Linked DNA regions of Homo sapiens: regions 1, 2, 4, 5, 6 and 7 are each linked to region 3. Evidence: promoter capture Hi-C in 16 types of primary human blood cells and fetal thymus (Javierre and others, 2016). All regions are on one chromosome and are shown on one strand. The core of a region is centred on a gene start or on the middle of the fragment in contact, and the rest is flanking DNA. Distances in the headings are between cores, read along the strand shown. Region 1 has its middle 4.0 kb from the start of ZFYVE16. Region 2 holds the start of CMYA5 (cardiomyopathy associated 5). Region 3 holds the start of THBS4-AS1 (THBS4 antisense RNA 1). Region 4 overlaps TENT2 (terminal nucleotidyltransferase 2). Region 5 holds the start of FAM151B (family with sequence similarity 151 member B). Region 6 has its middle 24 kb from the start of SPZ1. Region 7 overlaps ZFYVE16 (zinc finger FYVE-type containing 16).

Evidence for each region. Contacts are between HindIII fragments. The CHiCAGO score rates a contact against its expected background, and 5 or more counts as called.
Region 1: a contact is called between a fragment that was not itself captured here and the fragment with the promoter of THBS4-AS1 in region 3, in 2 of 17 cell types (monocytes and neutrophils). The highest score is 7.2, in monocytes.
Region 2: a contact is called between the fragment with the promoter of CMYA5 here and the fragment with the promoter of THBS4-AS1 in region 3, in 10 of 17 cell types (megakaryocytes, M1 macrophages, M0 macrophages and 7 more). The highest score is 15.1, in megakaryocytes.
Region 4: a fragment that was not itself captured here is called in contact with the fragment with the promoter of THBS4-AS1 in region 3 in 2 of 17 cell types (M1 macrophages and M0 macrophages); the score reaches 5.9 in M1 macrophages.
Region 5: a contact is called between the fragment with the promoter of FAM151B here and the fragment with the promoter of THBS4-AS1 in region 3, in 2 of 17 cell types (neutrophils and monocytes). The highest score is 12.3, in neutrophils.
Region 6: a fragment that was not itself captured here is called in contact with the fragment with the promoter of THBS4-AS1 in region 3 in 5 of 17 cell types (neutrophils, monocytes, M0 macrophages and 2 more); the score reaches 7.3 in neutrophils.
Region 7: a fragment that was not itself captured here is called in contact with the fragment with the promoter of THBS4-AS1 in region 3 in 1 of 17 cell types (neutrophils); the score reaches 5.5 in neutrophils.

Annotation. Positions count from the first base shown.
Region 1 is chr5:80,402,528-80,405,585 of GRCh38, forward strand. No RefSeq gene overlaps it. Among named protein-coding and RNA genes, the nearest start is that of ZFYVE16, 4.0 kb to the right of the region's middle. The HindIII fragment of the contact is 2,574 bases long and covers 97-2,670 here.
Region 2 is chr5:79,687,801-79,691,101 of GRCh38, forward strand. CMYA5 (cardiomyopathy associated 5) reads left to right here and starts at 2,036. Exons shown (of 13, transcript NM_153610.5): 1 at 2,036-2,256. The coding sequence starts at 2,108. TENT2 (terminal nucleotidyltransferase 2) reads left to right here. Exons shown (of 15, transcript NM_001114394.3): 15 at 1-446. RefSeq lists an enhancer at 1,546-2,047. The HindIII fragment of the contact is 6,464 bases long and covers 1-3,301 here.
Region 3 is chr5:80,082,399-80,085,365 of GRCh38, forward strand. It overlaps THBS4-AS1 (THBS4 antisense RNA 1), which reads right to left and starts at 1,267. Exons shown (of 8, transcript NR_109930.1): 1 at 1,102-1,267; 2 at 1-139. THBS4 (thrombospondin 4) reads left to right here. Exons shown (of 22, transcript NM_003248.6): 21 at 8-147; 22 at 682-889. The coding sequence ends at 743. RefSeq lists silencers at 576-665, 1,781-1,995. The HindIII fragment of the contact is 5,954 bases long and covers 1-1,283 here.
Region 4 is chr5:79,670,535-79,673,785 of GRCh38, forward strand. All of the region lies in intron 12 of TENT2 (terminal nucleotidyltransferase 2), which reads left to right. Among named protein-coding and RNA genes, the nearest start is that of CMYA5, 18 kb to the right of the region's middle. RefSeq lists an enhancer at 1,818-2,391. The HindIII fragment of the contact is 2,448 bases long and covers 303-2,750 here.
Region 5 is chr5:80,486,313-80,489,463 of GRCh38, forward strand. FAM151B (family with sequence similarity 151 member B) reads left to right here and starts at 1,788. Exons shown (of 6, transcript NM_205548.3): 1 at 1,788-1,836. The coding sequence starts at 1,812. It overlaps FAM151B-DT (FAM151B divergent transcript), which reads right to left and starts at 1,634. Exons shown (of 3, transcript NR_172938.1): 1 at 1,466-1,634. RefSeq lists enhancers at 1,392-1,893, 1,894-2,393 and a silencer at 2,058-2,352. The HindIII fragment of the contact is 15,498 bases long and covers 1-3,151 here.
Region 6 is chr5:80,342,566-80,345,591 of GRCh38, forward strand. No RefSeq gene overlaps it. Among named protein-coding and RNA genes, the nearest start is that of SPZ1, 24 kb to the left of the region's middle. The HindIII fragment of the contact is 1,408 bases long and covers 860-2,267 here.
Region 7 is chr5:80,455,379-80,458,812 of GRCh38, forward strand. It overlaps ZFYVE16 (zinc finger FYVE-type containing 16), which reads left to right. Exons shown (of 19, transcript NM_001284236.3): 12 at 314-396; 13 at 1,083-1,187; 14 at 1,567-1,714. Among named protein-coding and RNA genes, the nearest start is that of FAM151B-DT, 31 kb to the right of the region's middle. The HindIII fragment of the contact is 868 bases long and covers 1,465-2,332 here.

The DNA.
Region 1 (3,058 bases), core at 134-2,633, 320 kb after region 3:
TTTTAAAAAATAATTTAAGGTTCATGCCATACTGACCATTTCTTTTTGCTTATTGAATATATGTGTAGAGAGGGGTTGGACCAGGTTAATTGAATAAGCTTTCATTTATTATAATGGTTAAGGAAATCACCTTAATATAATAAAACACAATTTAATTCTAAAAATTCATGTAACTTTATCTCTATTTTCTTTGTCAATTCAAAAGCACTGCAAGATCTTGCAATGACTGCAAGATCAATAGGAAAAACAATGCAATTATGTTTAATAAACTGTCTGGGCTTGGTGGCTCACTCTTCTAATCCCAGCACTTCAGGAGGCCAAGGTCGGTGGATGGCTTGAGCCCAGGAGTTCCAGACCAGCCATGGGCAACATGGCGAAATCCTGCCTCTACAAAAAATACAAAAGTTAGCCAGGTGCAGTAGCATGCGCCTATAGTCCCAGGTATTTGGGAGACTAAGGCAGGAGAAACACTTGAGCCACAGAGGTTGAGGCGGCAGTGAGCCGAGATCGAGCCATTACACTCCAGTCTAGGCAATGGGAGTGAAACCCTGTACCAAACAAAACAAAACAACAAAAAAAAAATGAATAAGTGTTTGTTGAATTAAACACCAGTTATTCCTCTTTTTTACTGTTGATATAGAAAGCTCATAAGATTTATTATGTTTATCAACAAATCATTGCTATGTCATTAATTTATTGTTTGTCATATATTTCTAAAGAACTCAGAAAAAATATTGGTTATTTGAGCTTTTTGACTTTATAACTTTAAGTAAATACAGTTGCTGTATTAAATACAAGGATCTACAGCGATTATCTGAGCACCACAACTAAAACTTTCCTTAGAGAATTGAAAAGCCTCTCTCACAAGAACCAATACTAAATTATAGCACTTTGTACAAAAGGAGAATGGGCTGTTGAGAGTGTGTTCTTCAGTTTGCTGTTTTGATAAAGGCCTTGACCAGTAAGTGTTGCTGTACTTAACAAAGTAGTTATAACAGCCTGTACTTAACAAAGTAGTTATAACAGCAGGGAGAAATCCTGAACTTCAGGTTTTGTTTATGGATGAGCAACAATGTTCATACTGCGAGAACACCTGGTTTACTTATAAGATAAAGGCTGAAAACAGTAGGTGATCAATAAATGACAGCTATTTATAAAGTGGTTCTTAGTAATAAGTGATGATACGTGTGTCTGGTGCAACTGAACAATAGGAATGGAGCATTTTTCTGTGCCAGAGTACAACTGACCAGCTGTCTGCTCCATAAAACTGGTCATTGTAGATTTTTTATCTCTAATCTAGTTAACTTTGGGTACTACTTGGTACAAAGTTTAATTTTCATTGGTATAGGGCCTTATGTAGAAGTTCAAAACCCAGTTCTGAATTTCTGAACTCACATTTGTGCCGCTGTGGTCATCAGAAAAAAAAAAAAAAAAGGAACTGTTTACTAGGAATTGGAAGAAATATACTAGCTTTAAACCACTCACTGGCTAAATCAGGGTTTCTCAACCTTGGCACTGTTGATATTTTAGGCTGAAAACTTCTTTGTTGTTGGGGGTTCTCCTGTGAATTGCAAGACAGTTAGCGGCATCCCTGGCCTGTATCTATTAGATATCAGTAGCATTCTTTCAGTGGTGACAACCAAAAATGCCTCCAGAGATTGTCAAACGTCCTCTGGGAGGCAAAATCACCCCTCACCTCCACAGAGAACTATTGGGCTAAAGTAGTAGTCATTGATTTGAACTTTGGTTTGTTGGTTGATTTCATCTATTTTTACTACTTTATAGATCAGAAGTTTTGTGGAACCCAAATTAAATACTCTTTCAAAGCATAATTAGGAAAGGTTATTATAATTCTAAACATCTACTAAAAGTATTGCAATTGCTTTGTTAGCAGATTAAATTTTTAGTAGACATTTGGCATTAAAAGGTAATCAAAGGCTACAAATTTTATATGAACAAACTTATTAATTCTCCTTAAAAAACAAAAACAGAAACAAAAACAGAGCAAACGAGTCTTCATATAGTGACAAACATGTGGAGTGGTCATCAAGTCCCTGTATCTTATTCTCAGTTTAGTAGACTAAGAAATTCAGTTTTAAAATGTATTTGCAAGTAATTGTGCTCCAGGGAACTTATACTTGCATTAGCCAAATTCATAGGCTACTGATATAACAACATGGATGTAACTGATCAATTTATAAAAAGAAATATAACCATCAAGAATAGCAATTGTTAGGCTGGCACAGTGGCTAATGTCTGTAATCCCAGCACTTTGGGAGGTTGACTACCTGATTACCTGAATTTGAATTCTAATTGGGAGGATTGCTTGGGCCCAGAAGTTTGAGACCAGTATAGGCAACATAGTGAAACCTTGTCTTTAAAAAAATAAAAATAAAAATTATCTGGGCATGGTGATGCACGCCTGTGGTCCCAGCTACTCTGGAGGCTGAGGTAGGAGGATCACTTGGGCCCCAGGAGTTGGGGCTGCAGTGAGCCATGATCCAACCACTGCATTTCAGCCTGAGTGATATAGTAAGATCCTGTCAAAAAAAGAAAAAAAAAAGAATAACAGTTATTCATCATTTACAGTCAGTGCTTCAGTTAAGTACTTTATGTGGATTATCTCAATCAATGTATTAGTTCTATTAGCATTTGACTACAGGAGCATCAAGCTTAGAAAATTTAGGCCACACAACTAATAGGTTATAGAATTAGAATTCAAATTCAGGTAATCAGACTCTAAAGACCATACTTGAAATGACAGGGGAAATGGATTCTTAGGTTTCCTGGTCAACTTATCACACTTGTTACATTAGAGGTTTTTTTCTTTTTCCCCAGAATATAAAGGTAATATATAGATGTTGTAGAAAATGTAGACTGTCCAGGATAATAACATCTACATTCTAATCAGATAGACATGACTACTATCAACATTTTGATATACTTTCTTCACTCTTTTACATACATTGTATACTATAGCTGACCTCATACTACATAGGCAATGTTAAATATTTTTAAATATTTAAAATGTTTTTTCATGAGGTAATTTCCTCAGGCC
Region 2 (3,301 bases), core at 786-3,285, 390 kb before region 3:
TCTTTGCAAATAAATCTCATAGACATTAATGTTTGTAAGAAATTTTTAATTAAATGATGGAAGGAACATAGAATGGCTACCTGTGATTTTGATTAGTGTTTAACAGATTGCCACAGCTGTGATTGAATTCCTTTTGTACTGGATGAGCATGGTCATTTGGGATTACTGATGGTGAAGTCTAGCTGGTGTTAAGAGAATAAATATTGCTGATGCTAAACCTGGTTTAGTGAGCTGTGGAAGCCTTGACTCTGCTGTTTTCCCTCCTTATGCCCCACTAGCTGATGTATCTGTACTGTAATTCAATGATTTACAGTTCATTACCTCCAGACATAATGCATGCATACCAGCTCGTGTAACTGGTGAATAATCCCCAGCTTACAGTCATATTTAACAACTCTGTGACTTGCTATAATTAAAAATAAATGTTAACTCTTCTAGCCATCAAATCATTCTCATGAAATGAATATCTTTATTGTAAAGTTACCTCCATTTGTACATAGCAGTTCTGGTTCTGTTCTCTTCAGGGAGCATCCATTATATGTACCTGCTATGTGCTAGCTACTTTGCTAGTGTGTAGGCTTGTAAGAGATGGGGATGATGGGACAAAGAAGAGTAGTAAACTTACGAAGTCTGCTGGGGAAGGAGATACAAACATAATTTGAATATAGGATTATGTGGGAACCTGGAAGAGAGGTACTGAGTTTAACTTTGGGATTTCAGTGAAAGGTGGTGATCTTGAATGATGGGTATCCTGGTAAAAATGGGACCAACCTTTGAGGCAGAAGGAATTGTGTTAATAAAGACACAGTGGAGTGACTTGACAATGTTGGGAACTCCTGACTTCTAAAGACACCTGACCAGCTGGGCGTGGGGGCTCACACCTGTAATTCCAGAACTTTGGGAGGCTGAGGTGGGCAGATCACCTGAGGTCAGGAGTTCGAGACTAGGCTAGCCAATATGGTGAAACCCCGTCTCTACTAAAAATACAAAAATTAGCTGGGCATGGTGGTGCGCGCCTGTAGTCCCAGCTACTCGGGAGGCTGAGGCAGGAGAATCGCGTGAACCCAGGAGGTGGAAGTTGCACTGGACCGAGATCGCGCCATTGCACTCCAGTCTGGGCGACAAGAGCAAGACTCCATCTCAAAAAAAAAAAAAGAGTAGACAGGTAAAACATGGCCTGTTAGGCAACCGTTACCTTTGTGAGGGTGTTGGGGTTCAGTCTTTGAGCAGTGGGAAGCCATTGAGGGGTTTTAACCACAACTTGATCCGGGGAAAGGTTTGGGGCATTTGGGCCAGTTTCAGACAAAACTTAGCTTTTTGCTAACGTGGGGGAAATTGCTCCTCCTCAAGGTTTAAGATGAGTGGAGATAAAGTTTCCTGGCTCAATAACAGGGACCACTGAGCAAGAAAATACACAGTATATTGACTTGCGATATAAAGAGAGCCGGGACGGAACACTGGTTCAAAACTGGGCTTTTGAGCAGGGCACGCCTAGCTTTGTTTCTCATTGGGTCATTTTACTAGCAATGACAGCCTGAGCTGCTGGAGCTCTTCGGAGTCTCAGTTTCCTCATCTGGGAAACCAGCACTACAGTAAAACCTTCTACAGGTACCACCACAGAATCGAGGTAATGAAAGCGAGACCCTTAGCAGAGTGCCTGGTAGTTAAGTGCCCAGCTCAGGGTATTGTTTGGGATAAAGGGTCCAGAAAGTAGCTCAGCTCAAAACCGAAAAGACTCACTCTGGAGGAAATAAGAGACGGGGCTAGGTTGCCTTTCCTCCTTTGAACCCCCTGGTGCAGCCGGAGCCCGCGCCCCTTAAAGTGATCTCCAGTTGTCCGAAAGGCCCGCCAGGGATCTGGCGAAACGGGGGCGGGGGAGGGCTCAGGGAAGAGGAGAAGCTGAGCCCGGGCCCCAGAAGCTCGGTGGCGAAACTTTGACGCCTTCTATTTAAAGTCGCGGGGCTCGCCCGCCCCCGGCGCCGGGAACCCGAGCCGCCCCCGCAGGGGCAGGGCTGGGGAGGGCAGGGGCCAGAGCAGTCGGAGGGAGAACACCAGGCGCGGCGCGGGCGGCTCCGGCTCCGGCCCCGGCCCAGGCCCGGGAGAGGCGATGGCGAGCCGCGATAGCAACCACGCTGGCGAGAGCTTTCTCGGCTCCGACGGGGACGAGGAGGCGACCCGGGAGCTGGAGACCGAGGAGGAGTCGGAGGGCGAGGAGGACGAGACGGCGGCGGAGTCGGAGGAGGAGCCGGACTCCAGGTAGCGCGAGCCTCTCTCCTCGGCCCAGGGCCTGCAGGGCAGCTAGCAGCACCCTTGCTTGTTTGCTTTAAGTTTTTAAGCTCTGGGGTTCGTTTGCCTCGAGCTAGGCACTTTCTCTCTGGGTGCACTGTCGTTTAAAAGAACTTGAAGGTGAAGGTGCTCGCTGTCAGCTGGAGTGACAGGCCCGCCTGCAGCAGAGTTCATTACCCCCGCCCCCAGCTCCTTGTGACTCGCTGCTCTTGTTTATTCCTGAGGATTTACTTAGGTCCTGCATAACTGCCGAAATGTGCTGGAACACGTACATCTGGCCCGAGGCACAGGAACAATCGCGAAATCCTGCGCTAGAGGAGAAGGGGGTGGGGTGGAGGCGGTGAAGGCGCACTGGTACCTTCCGATGAATGGCGGTCTCCCCGGGGGCCTAGCAGTAGGCTAGGCTGCAATAAGGTGACCTTATTTTGATACAAAGGCCCATAAATTCTTTGGGGGAAAAGAAGCATGAGTTTCAGTAATCCCTGTTCTTCAAGTCCTGGTCCCAAATCCCAAATATCAGTTTCCGTGAATGCGATGAAGTAATACTATGTACAAAAGATGCACCTCCCACCCTTCGATCTCCCACCCTCCGTCCCTTTAAGAAGGCCCTAAAATGAGAATAATAGAAATCATCTAATGTCTATTTGGATTAGCTTCTACCTTCACTTGTTTTCCTTGAGTATGAGTTTTGGGTTTTTTCCTGACTGTGTGTCAGTCAGTGATGTCTCTTCCTCAGTCTGTTCATAACAGTAGAAAGGCTTTGAAGGTGGCAGGTGGGTGTGTACCATCTCAGAACGCCCAGCTTACCTAATCAAAGCCAGCAGAGCCGATGTTGAAGAAGTAGCCCATAGAGGGGCATTGAGGAGGATGGATGGTCAGACAAGAAGTCCTGAATGTATGTCACCTGTTTATCAAACAGCTGCCAAGTGGGAAGCAAGCACAGTCCCTGGCCTCAAGGACCTTGTGGAAAAAGTTTCCCTAACTTTTTCCCCTATGGGGAAACGTTTCCCTAACA
Region 3 (2,967 bases), core at 17-2,516:
TCCGCAGGGTACGATTTTATGAAGGCTCTGAGTTGGTGGCTGACTCTGGCGTCACCATAGACACCACAATGCGTGGAGGCCGACTTGGCGTTTTCTGCTTCTCTCAAGAAAACATCATCTGGTCCAACCTCAAGTATCGCTGCAATGGTAATGTGCATTCTCGTTACTGTTCAACATTGTTACTAGAATTAGTCAAACACTGCCACCTTATTTTTATACCGCACTTCCCCCCCAAAAGCCCAACGCTCATACCACATAGTCATTAAAACCTGATAGTCCCTGTGTACCAGAAGTAAAAAGCAGATCACATTTATCCTATTTTATCCATGTGGAAATTAAGACCCATAGAATTTAACTGCATGGTTTAGGGTTTGGGGTTCAGTGAGAAATCCAGTCAGATTTAATTTACAGGAAGCCTTTATTTTCATGTGGTTAAAACATAATCACAGATGCAAAATCCATTCTGCCTGCTGATTTTCTGCACGGCCGGGAAGGAGCACTCCTGGGCTTTAAGCCAACGGTTTGCAAAGCAGCCTGCAGGAGAAAATGGCGGCGAGGGCCTGCGGGGCGTCCTGGGCGGGCTAACAGCGCCCCCTACAGGACGCCTGAGCCGCGGGCGGGGGTCCGGGGTCCGGGGTGGAAGGAGCCTCGCTAACCTCCCTGTGCCCATTCCTATTGCAGACACCATCCCTGAGGACTTCCAAGAGTTTCAAACCCAGAATTTCGACCGCTTCGATAATTAAACCAAGGAAGCAATCTGTAACTGCTTTTCGGAACACTAAAACCATATATATTTTAACTTCAATTTTCTTTAGCTTTTACCAACCCAAATATATCAAAACGTTTTATGTGAATGTGGCAATAAAGGAGAAGAGATCATTTTTAAAAACCGTGTTGCTCAGACATTGCTCTCACGTGGCTCAGGCTTTGAGGTGCCCGTTCTCGGAGGGATCCCTGTTAACTTGCAGGGTGGTAGTTTCTTCTCAGACCCGGTGGCCGATAAGATGAGCCTATGCGTGAATCACAAGGCCCAGGCCAGAGGTCTCAGCTGGGGTCCCCCCAGTTTGCTCCATACAAAACGCCTAACCGTTCCATGCTCACCTTGGCAGCCTCCTTATTTCGGGTAAGGGGTCTCAGAAACACGTGTTTGGGGTGGCACCTTCCCTAGGGAGGCGTTTTTCTGACCTAGTCCTGGGACAGATTTGCCCAATTCTTTCTGATGCTGTCATCCCATCCCACACCTTCCACAGACTTCTATTCTGGCCCCTTCAACGTAATTCTTAAGCTTATTTATATATTTGGCTCCCCCTAGTGGACTGTAAGCATATTGACAATAAAGGATCATGTCATTACAATCAATATCCCCACAGTACCTGGAATGTAGTAAATAGCCAGTAAATGTTTACTGAATTAATAAACGAAGAATGAATGAATGAATGCCTCTTAAAGGACAGTAGAGTGTACATGATCATAAAAGTCCTCCTCAACTCAAAAAGTCACAACATATCCTCTATTTGTGGTACCAGTAGCTGGATGTACAGCACAGAAACTTGCCTAATTTGTACACTAGCCTTTCTTGTATTTCAATTGTAAATCAAGATCCAAGCAAATTTTTATAAATTCTCTAGAAATTTTGTTTCAAAGAATATTGCTGTGCGGTTATATATTTTCTTATTCCAGAATTCCTAGAGATATATTAAATCATGTATGAAGAAAAAAACACCACAGTTTTATCATGACTTTAACAGTGAGAAAATACAATGGTGCATGCATGAGATCTGGAGGATTTCTGGACATCCTCCTCTCATGTACAGCCTGGAGATGTGTGTGGCCTTGTAATCCAGGACATCTGATCTCCTACATCAAAAACTCCAATGGGGCCAGGTGTGGTGGCACTTGCCTGTGGTCCCAAGCACTTTGGGAGGCCAAGGCAGGCAGATCACTTGAGGCCAGGAGTTCAAGACCAGCCTGGCCAACGTGGCGAAACCCATCTCTACTAAAAATACAAAAATTAGCCAGGTGTGGTGCCACTTGCCTATAGTCCCAGCTATTTGGGAGGTTGAAGTGGGAGAATCACTTGAGCTGGGGAGGCAGAGGCTGCAGTGAGCAGAGATTGCACCACTGTACTCCAGCCTGGGCAATGAGAGTGAGGCTGGTGAAAGGAGGCAGCAACCCACACCATGCCCACCCCTGGGGCAGCCTCCCTGTTGTCGGCTGTGCAAGCCCAAGAACGCAGTATGTCCACAGGAAACAGACTCTCTTGGTTAAATCTTTTGTGTCTATAACTATTTTAGAAACCATGGGCCCACAGGAGATCCAGAACATAATTCCATCCCTTAGGGAGCTTATTACATTTTTGGGAAGACAAAACTTGTTATTTATGCAAAACAAGAAACAAAGACGCATGTAGAACCAGCAGTGTGCTGAAGCCAACTCCTACCAGCTCATAAGAGCCAACTATTCAAGTTTTAGGAATATTGTGAGCCAGTTAAACGGTTGGTAGTTTGAAATTGGCCATGGTGGGAGTATTTACACAGAAACTGGCAAACACTACAAATCAGGGCTCCAGAGAACTGGTTGTTAAATATTTATCAGCACACAAGTGATTATTCTACCTTGTCCTATTCCTAGTTGGCCCTCCTTATATTTTTGAAGCTGATGTAGAAAACTTGAGGCTTTCAGAAAATTTCTTGCATAAGAAATGAAGTAAGAAAAGTGAAAATGGGTGGGGTGCTATGGCTCACACCTGTAATCCTAGCACTTTGGGAGGCCTAGGTGGGAGGATCGCTTGAGGTCAGGAGTTTGGGACCAGTCTGGCCAACATGGTAAAACCCCATCTCTACTAAAAATACAAAAATTAGGCCAGGTGCAGTGGCTCCTGCCTATACTCCCAGCTCCTCAGGTGGCTGAAGCACAAGAATCTCTTGAACCCGGGAGGCGGAGGTTGCAGTGAGCTGAGATCGTGCC
Region 4 (3,251 bases), core at 277-2,776, 410 kb before region 3:
GGCTGGTCTCAAACTCTTGACCTAGTGATCTGCCCGCCTCAGCCTCCCAAAGTGCTGGGATTACAGGTGTGAGCCACCGTGCTCGGCCACGGAGCTTTCATTTATATTAAGATGAAGAAAGATTAAAGACTGGATGAGACATAGTACATAAATAGACTGTGAAGGTTTAATGGTTATTCTAGAGTTCTCTTTAAGATATTGCAATAACAATAGCTAATGTTTAGTGAGAATTTATCTAGTGTGCTGTAGTAAGCTGAGTGATTCCCATGGATTTCAGTTAATCCTCATAATAACCTCTGTCAAGCTTAGGGAATTTGTGTACATGAAACTTGCCCATGGCAATCTACAGCTAGATTGTGGGAGAGTTGGGATTCACTTTCAAGCTGGACTCCAAAACTACATTCTTAATTGTTAGACTGTATTGACATTGTTTATTATGTTATATAAATTAGGGACTGGGGGATGTTTGTGGAGGGGGAAAAGGATTCACAGAACAAAGATAACTTTTTTCCCATGTATAGTGTAGGATTAGAGCATCTGTATACAAATACCTTGAAAATCACCTGCTTTGTTGAACAGAAACAAGATAGTGGATGTGTAGGTTTGTATGTTAATTTAATATTAAAGGAAACTAGTCTGCTGGGTCAGATGATACTGATGCTTGGAAAGAGGTTTCAGAACTTCACCATCTAGTACATTTGTCATTTCATATGAGATATTTTCAGAAATTTGAAATGTGGGGATCACAGCCAAGAATGTAGTCATGGTAATAAACTAGAAGCTGTATAAAAGAATTATGGCAATTGTTAAAAATGTCTATAAGGATTTCTTCTGAACTTTGAGGTAATCATTTAAAAAGTTCTTTTTTCTTTTTCTTTTTTTTTTTTTGAAACAGAACCTTGCTCTGTTGCCCAGGCTGGAGTGCAGTGGTGCGATCTTAGCTCACTGCAACCTCCGCCTCATGGGTTCAAGCAATTCTCCTGCCTCAGCCTCCTGAGTAGCTGGGATTCCAGGTGCGTGCCACCATGCCTGGCTAATATTTTTTTGTATTTTTAGTAGAGATGGGGTTTCACCATATTGGCCAGGTTGGTCTTGAACTCCTGACCTCAAATGATCCACCCATCTCGGCCTCCAAAAGTGCTAGGATTACAGGTGTGAGCCACCGCGCCTAGCCAAAAGTTCTTTTTTCTGAAAGACAAAACATTAAGTGACTGTTAAGGGATGCTTGAGTATATGGTATAAATGTTGCAGAAGTTTTATATGGTCATTTAAAAATTACTATTTTCGGCCGGGTGTGGTGGCTCATGTCTGTAATCCCAGCACTTTGAGAGGCCATGGAGGGGAGATCACTTGAGCCCAGAAGTTTGAGACCAGCCTGGGCAACATGGCAAAACCCCCTTTCTACTAAAAATACAAAAATTAGCCAGGTGTGGTGGCACATGCCTGTAAACCCAGCTACTTGGGAGGCTGAGGCACAGGAATTGCTTGAACCAGGGAGGTGGGGGTTGCAGTGAGCTGAGATTGCTCCACTGCACTCCAGCCTGGACAATAGAGTGAGACCCTGTCTCAAAAAAAAAAACAAAAAACTATTTTTCTTACCTACTTCACTCACACCTTGCTGCTGAAATACTTCTGTTTTGTTACTTTTTGTGGGTACATAATAGGTTTGTATATTTATAGGGTATGTGAGATATTTTGATATAGGCATACAGTGCATAATAATCACATCAGGGTAAATGGGGTATCCATCACCTCAAGCATTTATCGTTTGCATTACAAACAATCCAGTTATCCTGTTTTAGTTATTTTTAAATGTACAATTAAATTATTATTGACTATAGTCACCCAGTTGTGTTATCAAATATATATCTTATTCGTTCTATTTTCTTGTACTCATTAACAATCCCCACTTCCGCCTCTCCCTGCCACTGCCCTTCCCAGCCTCTGGTAACCATCATTCTAGTCTCTTATCTCCATGAGTTCAATTGTTTTAATTTTTAGATCCCACAGATAACTGAGAACATGTGAAGTTTGTCTTTGTGTGTCTGGCTTATTTCACTTAATGTCCTCCAATTCCATCCATGATGTTGCAAATGAGAGGATCTCATTCTTTTGTATGGCTCAATAGTACTCTATTGTGGATAAGTACCACCTATTATTTATCCATTCCTCTGTTGATGGACACTTAAGTTCCTTCTAAATTTTGGCTATTGGGAATAGTGTTACAAAAACATGAGAGTGCAGATATGTCTTCAGTATCCTGATTTTCTTTCATTTGGGTATATGCCTAGGAGTGGGATTGCTGGATCATATGGTAGTTCTACTTTTAGTTTTGGGGAAACCTCCAAACTGTTCTTCATAATGGTTGTACTAATTTACATTCCCACCAGCAGGGTATGAGGGTTTCCTTGCCAGCATTCATTGTTGCCTGTCTTTTGGATAAAAGCCATTTTAAGTGGGGTGAGATGATACCTCATTGCAGTTTTGATTTGCCTAAGTCTGATGATTAGTGATGTTGAGCAGCTTTGCATATACCTCGTTGCTCTTTGTATGCCTTCTTTTGAGAAATGTCTGTTGAGATCTTCTGTCCGTGTTTTAATTGGATTATTAGATTTTTTCCTATAGAGTTGTTTAAGCTCCTTATATATTCTGCCTATTAATCCTTTGTGAGATGAGTAGTTTGCAAATATTTTCTCTCATTCTATGGGTTTGTCTCCTCACTTTGTTGATTGTTTCCTTTGCTATGCAGAAGCTTTTTAACTTGATGTGATCCCATTGTCCATTTGCTTTGGTTGCCTGTGCTTGTGGAGTATTACTTAAGAAACCTTTGCCCATACCAATGTCCTGGAGAGTTTCTCCAATGTTTTCTTGTGGTGGTTTCATAATTTGAGGTCTTAGATTGAATTCTTCAATCAATTTTGGTTTGTTTTTTGTATATGTCAAGAGATAGGGTTCTAGTTTCATTCTTTCGCATATGGATATCTAGTATTCCCAGCACTATTTATTGAAGAGACTGTGCTTTCCCTAGTGTATGTCTTGGCACCTTTTTTGAAAATGAGTTCACTGTAGATGTATGGATTTATTTTGGCATTCTTTATTCTGTTCCATTGGTCTATGTGTCTGTTTTTATGCCAGTCCCATGCTGGTTTGATTGCAGCTTTACTGAATTTGTTTATCATTTTAAGATTGGGATAACTTCAAGATATTCAAGTGGAGATACTGAGTAGACAGTTGGATATATAAGCCTAGAG
Region 5 (3,151 bases), core at 538-3,037, 400 kb after region 3:
AAATATTGCAAATATTTGCAAATTACCTGTTAAGGGACTTGTATTGAGACTATATAAAGAATTCTCACAATTGAAATGAGCACAGGATTTGAGAAGACATTTCTCCAAAGGAAATATATAAATGACCGATAGCACCTGAAAATATGCTCAATATTATTAGTAGGGAACTACAAATCAAGATAATGAGGTAGTACTTCATATCTACTAGGATGGCTATAATTTAAAAAACATAACAACAAGTACTGACTGGTAAGGATGTGGGGAAATTGGAATCTTCATACATTGCTGGTGGGAATGAAAGATGGTACAGCTGATTTGCAAAACTGGCAGTTCCTCACACAGTTAAACAGTTACTATATGAACAAGTAGTTCCACTCCTAGGTATGTACACAGATATGCACACAGGAATGTATTCATATACGTCCACACAAAACTTGTCCATGAATGTTCACAGCAGCAGCATTCATAAAAGACAAAATGTAGAAACAACCCGAATGTCCTTCAGCTGTTGAATGGACACACATAAAATGTGGTATTTACAAACTGGAATTTATTCCAGCATAAGAAGGAAGGAAGTACTGATACATGCTAAAACATGGGTGAATTTTGAAAACATGCTAAGTGAAAGAAGCCAGTTACAAAGATCATACATACAGTCTGTGATTCTATTTACATGAAATTCCAGAATAGGCAAATTCATGAGACAGAAAGTAGATGAGTTGTTGCCTGGGGGTAGGAAGGGGGTAAATGGAGAGTGATTGCTTTGGAGTGATGAAAAATATTTTATCTGAAAGGCTGGGCAAGAATAACTCCCCTTTGTATTACGTGTCAGGTGATGTTAGTTATCCTAACTCTACCACTGGCAGATTGAGTTTTTTGGTCACAGAAGCTGAAAATGGCAGAGCTTTGTTGTTAATTCTGATCACTAGTTTGGCTTCAAAAAGTAATGAGTTAAGGAGGGCTAGAAAGACAGTGGATGGGAGGACCCAGTTGCTGAGAGCGTTTTCTGAGTGAACACTGGTAGAGAGACAGAAGGGGAGAGAAAACTTCAAGTTATCAGCTCGGTAACTTTGTACAAAAACTTATTTATTTATTTATTTATTTATTTGACAGTCTAGCTCTATCGCACAGACCGGAGCGCAGTGGAGCGATCTCGGCTCTCTGCAACCTCCACCTCTCCGGTTCAAGCCATTCTTGTGCCTCAGCCTCCCGAGTAGCTGGGATTACAGGCGCGCGCCACCACGCCAGGATAATTTTTTAAATTTTCAGTAAGGACGGGTTTTAACCATGTTGGCCAGGATGGTCTCGAATTCCTGACCTCAAGTGATCCGCCCACCTCGACCTCCCAAAGTGCTGGGAGTACAGGCCTGAGCCACCGTGCCCGGCCAGAAACACTGATTTTTATCAGTAATGATTCCACACCCTTTTAGGATATTACTAACATTTAAAAGAAAATATACCCAACTGTTGAAATTCGTGCTCCACTCCAGCAACTGCTTTCAATCGGAGTTCCATCCTCCGCCGCAGTATGCCCTAACGCAGCGTTATCTTCAGAGCTACCACCAGCTTCCGAAACCTTTCGGAGGAGCGCTTCGCCACCACCTGCACGGCGAAGCGGCGCGTAAACGAACCTCGAACGCCAGCCTTTGCGCCTGCGTGCCGCGGCTCCGTTTGGTTCCGCTTCGCTGGCGCCCGCCGGGCTCTTCCCCCGCCGAGGCCTGTGGTTTGTGGAGTCGAATTTCCCTGCCACCAGTGCCCGGTTAGCAGGGGCGCCAGCCTGGGCGCCTGCGCGGACGGCGGGCGTCGTCACCATGGCAGCATCCGCTGGAGGCCCAGGTAAGCGCCGAGCGCGCGGCCTCTGCCTGGAGGTGGGGCGCTTTGAGAGGCTCCGCCGGCCGTACCCTCCCTTTGCGGGCTCCCGCGGTCTTCCTTGCTAGGGACCTGGGAGCGCGCCGCGCAGAACCGGGCGGCTGGGCTTGGAGCCCGCTCTGCACTCGGGGCGCGCCCGCGATCGCCTGGCAAGGACCTTGGTTTGCCGGGTGGGCTCTAAGGGACAGGCGTTAGGGGAGGTCGAGAATGGCAGGGTCAGTGTCTTTTGAGGTCTGGGTTGGAAAGAAAGGAATGTGACGTTTCCCTAATCCTTAATTTCAGCCGACCGTATGGGGGCGGTCTGGGTCAGTAGGTTCCTCTTTGAAAGCTGGGGGAGGTTTGGGAATGCGGACTGGGCCGGGCCCGGCATAGTCCCGCTGCTGAGCGCGCTGCCTGGAAAGCTGGCAGAGTGTGCGGCTCGCTTGATTCCCCTTGGAATCAGGTGCTTCAACTCGCGGGACAGCAGTTCCGCTCTTGAAGGTTACAGTATCTTTTCTGTAAACTTAAGTAGTGGCATGAGACAACGTCAGTGACGCGTTCTTTCTTCAGTTTAGATTTTTTTCCCTAATTGTAAAAATAATACACGCTTTCACCATTCTGACTAGCAGGCTGTATAAATACAGGTTCTCTTCTGAATCGATGCACAGTTTACAGAATCTTGGAATAAAATGTGTGTGTAAGCGAAAAATGTCCAGGTCCTGATAAATGCCATTATAGAACATTTATAAAGTATATTAGTATAGGGAAATAGGAAAAAAAAATCCCCCAAATGCTGATACCCACAGGCACCACTACTAACTTTTTGGTATTTTCTAACAACCCTGACTCTTAAAAATAGAGTTAAGGTCATGGTAAACATAATTTTTAAAATCCTGCATCTTATACTATCCCATGTCACCAAGGTTTTTATAAACATAATTTTGAATGACTGAAGTGTTTTATACAATTATATTGTATACAATTATATTGTAATTAACCAGTCTCCTAATGTTGAACGTTAATCAGTCGTTTCCTGTTTTGTTTTGTTTTGTTAGAATTCATTCTGTAATGAACATTTTTGCATTGTTCTTCCTCAGTTATGTTTTTGGTTTGTTTTTATCCTGGACACGATTCTTGTAACTGAAATTACTGGATCAAAGGATGTGAACTTTTTTCTCTCTCTCTTTTTTAAGATCTGTGCTAAACCTCCGTAGAACATTTTTTCAGACCAGAGTTTTCCTTTTTTAACCCTTGTGCTCTTCTCAGTATAAATCCTTTTAATGCCTAGTTTTCCTAAGAATCC
Region 6 (3,026 bases), core at 314-2,813, 260 kb after region 3:
AAAAAAAAAAAGAAAGAAAAAAAAAGATTGAGACTTCCTAAGTTCAGGTAAGTTCAGGGTTCCTTAGCTATGAGACAAACCCACAGACTGTGCAGCATCTACCTGAGCCCAACTTTCTGTCGCCACTGTGGAGTCTTGGTGGTAAATGCACAGATGCAAACATGAGGCTCATGCTTCCTCTTCTGTGAATAACAAAGCCCTTTGTTTGCTTGCTTTGTTTTTGTTGTTTTTTAAGAGGGAGTCTTGCTCCCGTTACACAGGCTGGAGTGCAGTGGTATGACCTTGGCTCACTGCAACCTCCACCTCCTGGGTTCAAGTGATTCTCCTTCCTCAGCCTCCTGAGTAGCTGAGATTACAGGCGTGTACCAACACGCCCGGCTAATTTTTGTATTTTTAGTAGAGATGGGGTTTCGCCATGTTGGCCAGGCTGGTCTCGAACTCCTGACCTCAGGTGATCCGCCCGCCTCGGCCTCCCAAAATGCTGGGACTACAGGCGTGAGCCACTGTGCCTGGCCCGCTGTTTGTTTTTGACTCAAGAGTCTCATGTCTTCTGGCAGAGCTTATAAAATTGTGTCAGGTTAATTAGTTAACTTAAAACTAAGGTAAAATCTCAGGCCATTCGTAGCTCTTGACATTGTCCAGCAACCAGCTGAATATGTGATCCTGAGATCAGAAGCAGAGCCTGGCCTAAGGATATGACTTTGTGAGTCATCAACATGTAAGTGGTCATTAAACCATGGTAGTGGACGCAATCATTTAGACTAGTGTGACATCATGAAAGGAGAATTCAGAGAGCTTTGAGGACCTCCAAAATGAAATAATCTGATAAAAGTGGAAGAGTTCAAGGGAGACTTGAAGAAGCTTCCAGGTGAATCAAAGAGAGAGACTGTTTCAAGGAGGAATGAGTGGTCAGGTTTATCAAATGCTGAGAGACCACATAAGATGAGAACGGAAAATATCCACTGAATTTAGAAGTTGGAGGTCATTGTGACATTACCAAGAGCAGTTAAAAGCAGTTTAATGGAGTAACTGGCTGAAATCCTAACTGGATGACAGCTTTGGTCAAGGTGGGGAAATACAGGCAGTAAATGAGGTCTTTCCTAAGAAGAGAAAGAGAAAGAATGGGGAGTTAAGGAATTGTCTTTTTTAAAAAAAAAAAAACAACAGAAATTTGGCCAGGCATGGTGGCTAACGCCTGTAATCCCAGCACTTTGGGAGGCCGAGGCAGGTGGATCACCTGAGGTCAGGAGTTCAACACCAGCCTGGCCAACATGGCGAAACCCTGCCTCTGCTGAAAATACAAAAATTAGCTGGGCCTAGTGGTGGATGCCTGTAATCCCAGCTACTCAGGAGGCTGAGGTGGGAGAATTGCTTGAACCTGGGAGGCGGAGGTTGCAGTGAGCCGAGATCACGCCATTGTACTCCAGCCTGGGCAACAGAGCGAGACTCCGTCAAAAAAAACAAAACAGAAATTTATTTTCGCACAATTCTGGAGGCCAGACACCTGAGATCAAGGTGTTATCAGGGTTAGTTTCTTCAGAGGCTTCCCTCCTAGTCTTGTAGATAGCCATCTTCTTTTTCTGTCTTAACATGGTCAAAGGAAGGGTCTTTGCTTTCAGCTTTATGGGCAAAGTTACACAAATGACAATGTGATCACCACCAGTGTTTTTAGGAGTGACTGAATATCCTTTCTCTACTTTCAAAACTTGTTGATCTAAAGACAGTCCTTTTTCTGGATCTGAATAGCCACAGAGCCCACTGAGTCTATATATACAAAATTTAATAGAGTTATTCTTTTTTTGTTTTGTACTTTTTAGAGATGGGGGTCTCACTATGTTGCCTAGGCTGAAGTGCAGTGTTTATTCACAGGTGCGGTCATAGCTTGCTGCAGCCTTAAACTCCTGGCCTCAGGCACTCCTCCCTCAGCCTCCAGAGTAGCTGGGACTACAGGCGTGCACCACTGCACCTGGCATAATAGTGTTATTCTTATTCCAAGAGATGTTTCAATGTCTCCAGTTTCAAATATAGAGGCAACAAGAAAAGCTCAGAAAGGAACTCAATAGGGATATAGGCCATCAACAAAACTGCAAAAACAGATTAAAAGGATGAAAATTCCATTTTGGAAAAAAGCATATGAGGAAACTTACTGTCATCAAGCTAACAAAGGCCAGAGAGCTTGTTTAGGAGCCCTTGACCTTAAAAGGACACTGGATAGAAATGGTCATAAAGAGAGAGAAAACGCCACAGAGAGAATAAAGTCCTACATAAGCTTAGTCCCTTTGTAAACTGGAACCACTGCAAGCACCCTGTAAGACCTTAATGGGGAAGCAGACACATAAAGAGTCCCTTTTTCCATTTAGTGCATACTTTTCTTTAACTGTTTAACTGTCATTGTGTGTGTGTCTGTGTGTGTACACCTGTAATCTCCACAACTTGGGAGGCTGAAGTGGGCAGATCACTTAAGGTCAGGTGTTCAAGACCAGCCTGGCCAACATGGTGAAACCCCGTCTCTACTAAAAATACAATTGGCAGGGTGCGGTGGCTCACACCTGTAATGCCAGCATTTTGGGAGGCCGAGGCAGGCAGATCACCTGAGGTCAGGGGTTTGAAACCAGCTTGGCCAACTTGGTGAAACCCTGTCTATACTAAAAATACAAAATCAGCCGGGTGTGGTGGCGGGCACCTATAACCCCAGCTACTCAGGAGGCTGAGCCAGGACAATGGCTTGAACCCGGGAGGCGGAGGTTGCAGTGAGCCCAGATTGCACAATTGCACTCCAGCCTGGGTCACAGAGCAAGACTTCGTCAAAAAACAAACAAACAAACAAAAAACTAGATTAAACAGTAGACAGGGAAAAAACACATCTTGTGCCCATTACAGTCTACTTTTGATCTGAAGAAATAAATTTAAGATTTACTGATCACCACACTCCAGGAAGAGAAAATACTAATCAAGGTAGTTGAGAATGCTTATACAGAGAGCAAGCAGTATTCCTACTCTATTCCGTTTTTCTTTATTGAGAAATT
Region 7 (3,434 bases), core at 649-3,148, 370 kb after region 3:
CAAAAATTAGCCAGGTGTTGTGGCACATGCCTATAATCCCAGCTACTTGGGAGGCTGAGGCAGGAGAATTACTTGAACCCAGGAAGTGGAGGTTGCAATGAGTCGAGATTGCACCGCTGCACTCCAGCCTGGGCAACAGAGTGAGACCTTGTCTCAAAAACAAAAAAAAAATTATCTCTCACTTTCCCCTAAGAACTGATTGAGTGATATTTATACATAATGTTTGTTTGTAAAATGAGAGTTGAAGGTAATAAATTCAATAATTTGGGGTTTTTTTTGTTGATAGTAACCAGTTTTCCTTTCTTATGTATAGCATATCCTGCTCCTCTAACAAGCATCAGAGGCCGAAAACCTCTTTTTGGAGAAATAGGACACACTATTATGAACTTACTTGTTGTGAGTAATTGAACTATTTTATTAGGTATTTTTATACTGTTACTTTAAAACTGTATTTAGCAAAGTTTATACATTTATATTTTCCTACTTTAATTTGCCATATTTGGTATAATGACCATTCATTTACAATAAATCCTAATTATTTTAACATTAGTGCTCAGTTTTTGACGAATTGCTTTTTAGAACGTACTATCTCCTCATGTACGTGTACCTGATTCTAAGTGCCTTTTGATTCATTCTCCTGCAGTTCTTGGATATTTAGGTAATGTAAGAACTCTATACAGACCTCTTAAAGTTGTTGAAACTTTTGTAAATGTATTAGTAAAGTCAGTCAGTCTTGTGATTTTGAGCAAATTATGGCCTTAGTTTTCTCATTTATAATAGGAAGTGTTGGATTAGATGATATCTAAAGTTCCCTTCCACCTATACTTTTTGTAATTTTGTGTTTCCCTGTTACCATAGAAAAATGTTTCAGTGGACTCACTTTTATTTATCCATGCCTAGTTTGAAGACCTTTTCTATTTTGGAAGTTCTGTAACTAGAAAGTTACCCTAAATACTACAAAGTTTTTCCTGAGAATGATATTCTTTATTACTGCTGTGGAGAAGGATTTCTTAAAGAAGGATTTAATGGATAGAAAAATACTCATGGTTAGTAGTTTATGGTAATGCAATTATTCTATGTAGGACCTTCGAAATTACCAGTATACCTTGCATAATATAGATCAACTGTTGATTCATATGGAAATGGGAAAAAGCTGCATAAAAATACCACGGAAAAAGTACAGTGATGTAAGTATAATTGTTTTATTCAAATGACAATTATTGAACATTAGAGTTCCCTTAGAATTGTGTCACATTAAATTTTTTGTTTTGAATTAGACTATCTAATGTATTATGGCAACAAACATTGTTTTTGAAATGATAGAATTTGTTTACTGTAAATAATCTGTTTGATCATATTTCTTTTTTTTCGTACTGTTTTATTGAGGTGATTACTGTTCAACTGAAGTGCTTTTATTTTAAAACATTTGTTTCCATCACATTCCCAGGGAGCTGTCCAGACCGAAGCTTGATAATTATGAAGCTGGCCAGAAACGTGGCTCTTAGAATAGGCATATAATATTAAAAGTGTTTCTAAATAAATGTTGTTGTTTTTGTTTTTTTCCAGGTAATGAAAGTACTAAATTCTTCCAATGAGCATGTCATTAGCATTGGAGCAAGTTTCAGTACAGAAGCAGATTCTCATCTAGTCTGTATACAGAATGATGGAATTTATGAAACACAGGCCAACAGTGCCACTGGCCATCCTAGAAAAGGTGAGCATCTTGGTTCCTAGTGCTAATTTACAAAACCACCTCAATTAATAGAATTCCTTTCAAAGGGGAAATATATGTATATTTACTTATTTGCTGAATTGTTGGTGATAAAACAATATGTTTTGAAATTTCAGCTACACAACAGATTTTAAAATTGCTTCTAATTTTTGTTTTTCTCTTGGGCTACTTTAGGCTTACAGACTTGGAAGACTGTTTTCCTTTTGACATCTTTAGGTTTAGTATATCCCGTAGGGTGAGAGTCTTTCTTTGAGTAATTTCTTTCTGAAATAAGGTATTTCTTTTCACATTTGTTCACCCTCTGCTCCAACTCCTCTTAGTTGGTGGAGCACAGGGTGATAAGGATAAGATTGATTTATAAAACGTAACAAACAGCATCTATGAATGACATTACTCTCAGCTCTGGCTGAATGGCTTCAGTGATTGCTATGATTACCAAACCCTTGCAGTAGAAGGCCTAACAAATTGAAAGTTAAATGGAAGCATTTCATAAAATTAATATATTATTATAGGATACCATACTTAAAATAGTCCAACATTCTGGCTGCCAATAAAATTTTTTCCTCTGCTTATAAAAGTAATATATACTTATTTGTAGTAAGCTTGGAAAATACATTTTGAAAAGTAGTAAAAGAGGCCAGGCACAGTGGCTCACGCCTGTAATCCCAGAACTTTGGGAGGCTGAGGTGAGCGGATCACAAGGTCAAGAATTGAGACCATACTGGCTAATATGGTGAAACCCCGTCTCTATTAAAAATACAAAAAATTAGCCGGGTGTGGTGGCGGGCGCCTGTAGTCCCAGCTACTTGGGAGGCTGAGGCGGGAGAATGGCGTGAACCCGGGAGGCGGAGCTTGCAGTGAGCCCAGATCGTGCCACTGCACTCCCGCCTGAGCGACAGAGAAACAGAGCGAGACTACGTCTAAAAAAAAAAAAAAAAAAAAAGGTGGTAAAAGGGAAAAGTGCCAAGATATGGTCACTATTGACATTTTACTGTATTTCCTTCTTATATTAATGTATATGTTAAATAGATGATTTTATACTGGATATTTACACTTTTATATTATACTTTATCACTTAACATGATATTGGCATTTTTGCCACTAAAATTTAACAATTTTTAATATTTATTTGTTGAATAGGTATATTTTTATGTGGTAAAATTAAAAAGTTATTAATATTTATAGTGAAAAATCTCCTTTCCTCCCTTGACCACCCAGCCATCCTCTTACTCTCCCTACAGGCAACCAAACCAATGTTATCAGTTCTTATATATCCTTTCAGAGACATTTTTGCTTTAATATATATTCAAGAAACACACACACATATCTACCTCTTTCTTCCACTTTTATAGACAAGTCATAATATTTGCTCCATTCTATACCTTGTTTTTTTTGTTGTTGTTAACACACTTTGGAGATTATTCTATGTTTGTGTATAAGGAGCTTTTATATTCTACAGAACTTTACATTTTATATGTTGTACATCATTTAACTGTCCCTTATTGATGGGCATAATTTGTTACCAATCCTTAGGGGCTGTTTATAAAAATGCTACAGTGAATAGTTTTGTATACATGCCGTTTTGTACACATTTGAACCTATCTGTAAGATAAATTCCCAAAAGTGGAATTGGTGTGTCATAGGATACATTTACTTGTAATTTTAATAGAAAAATGCCAAGTTAGGGCTCCATAAAAACTGT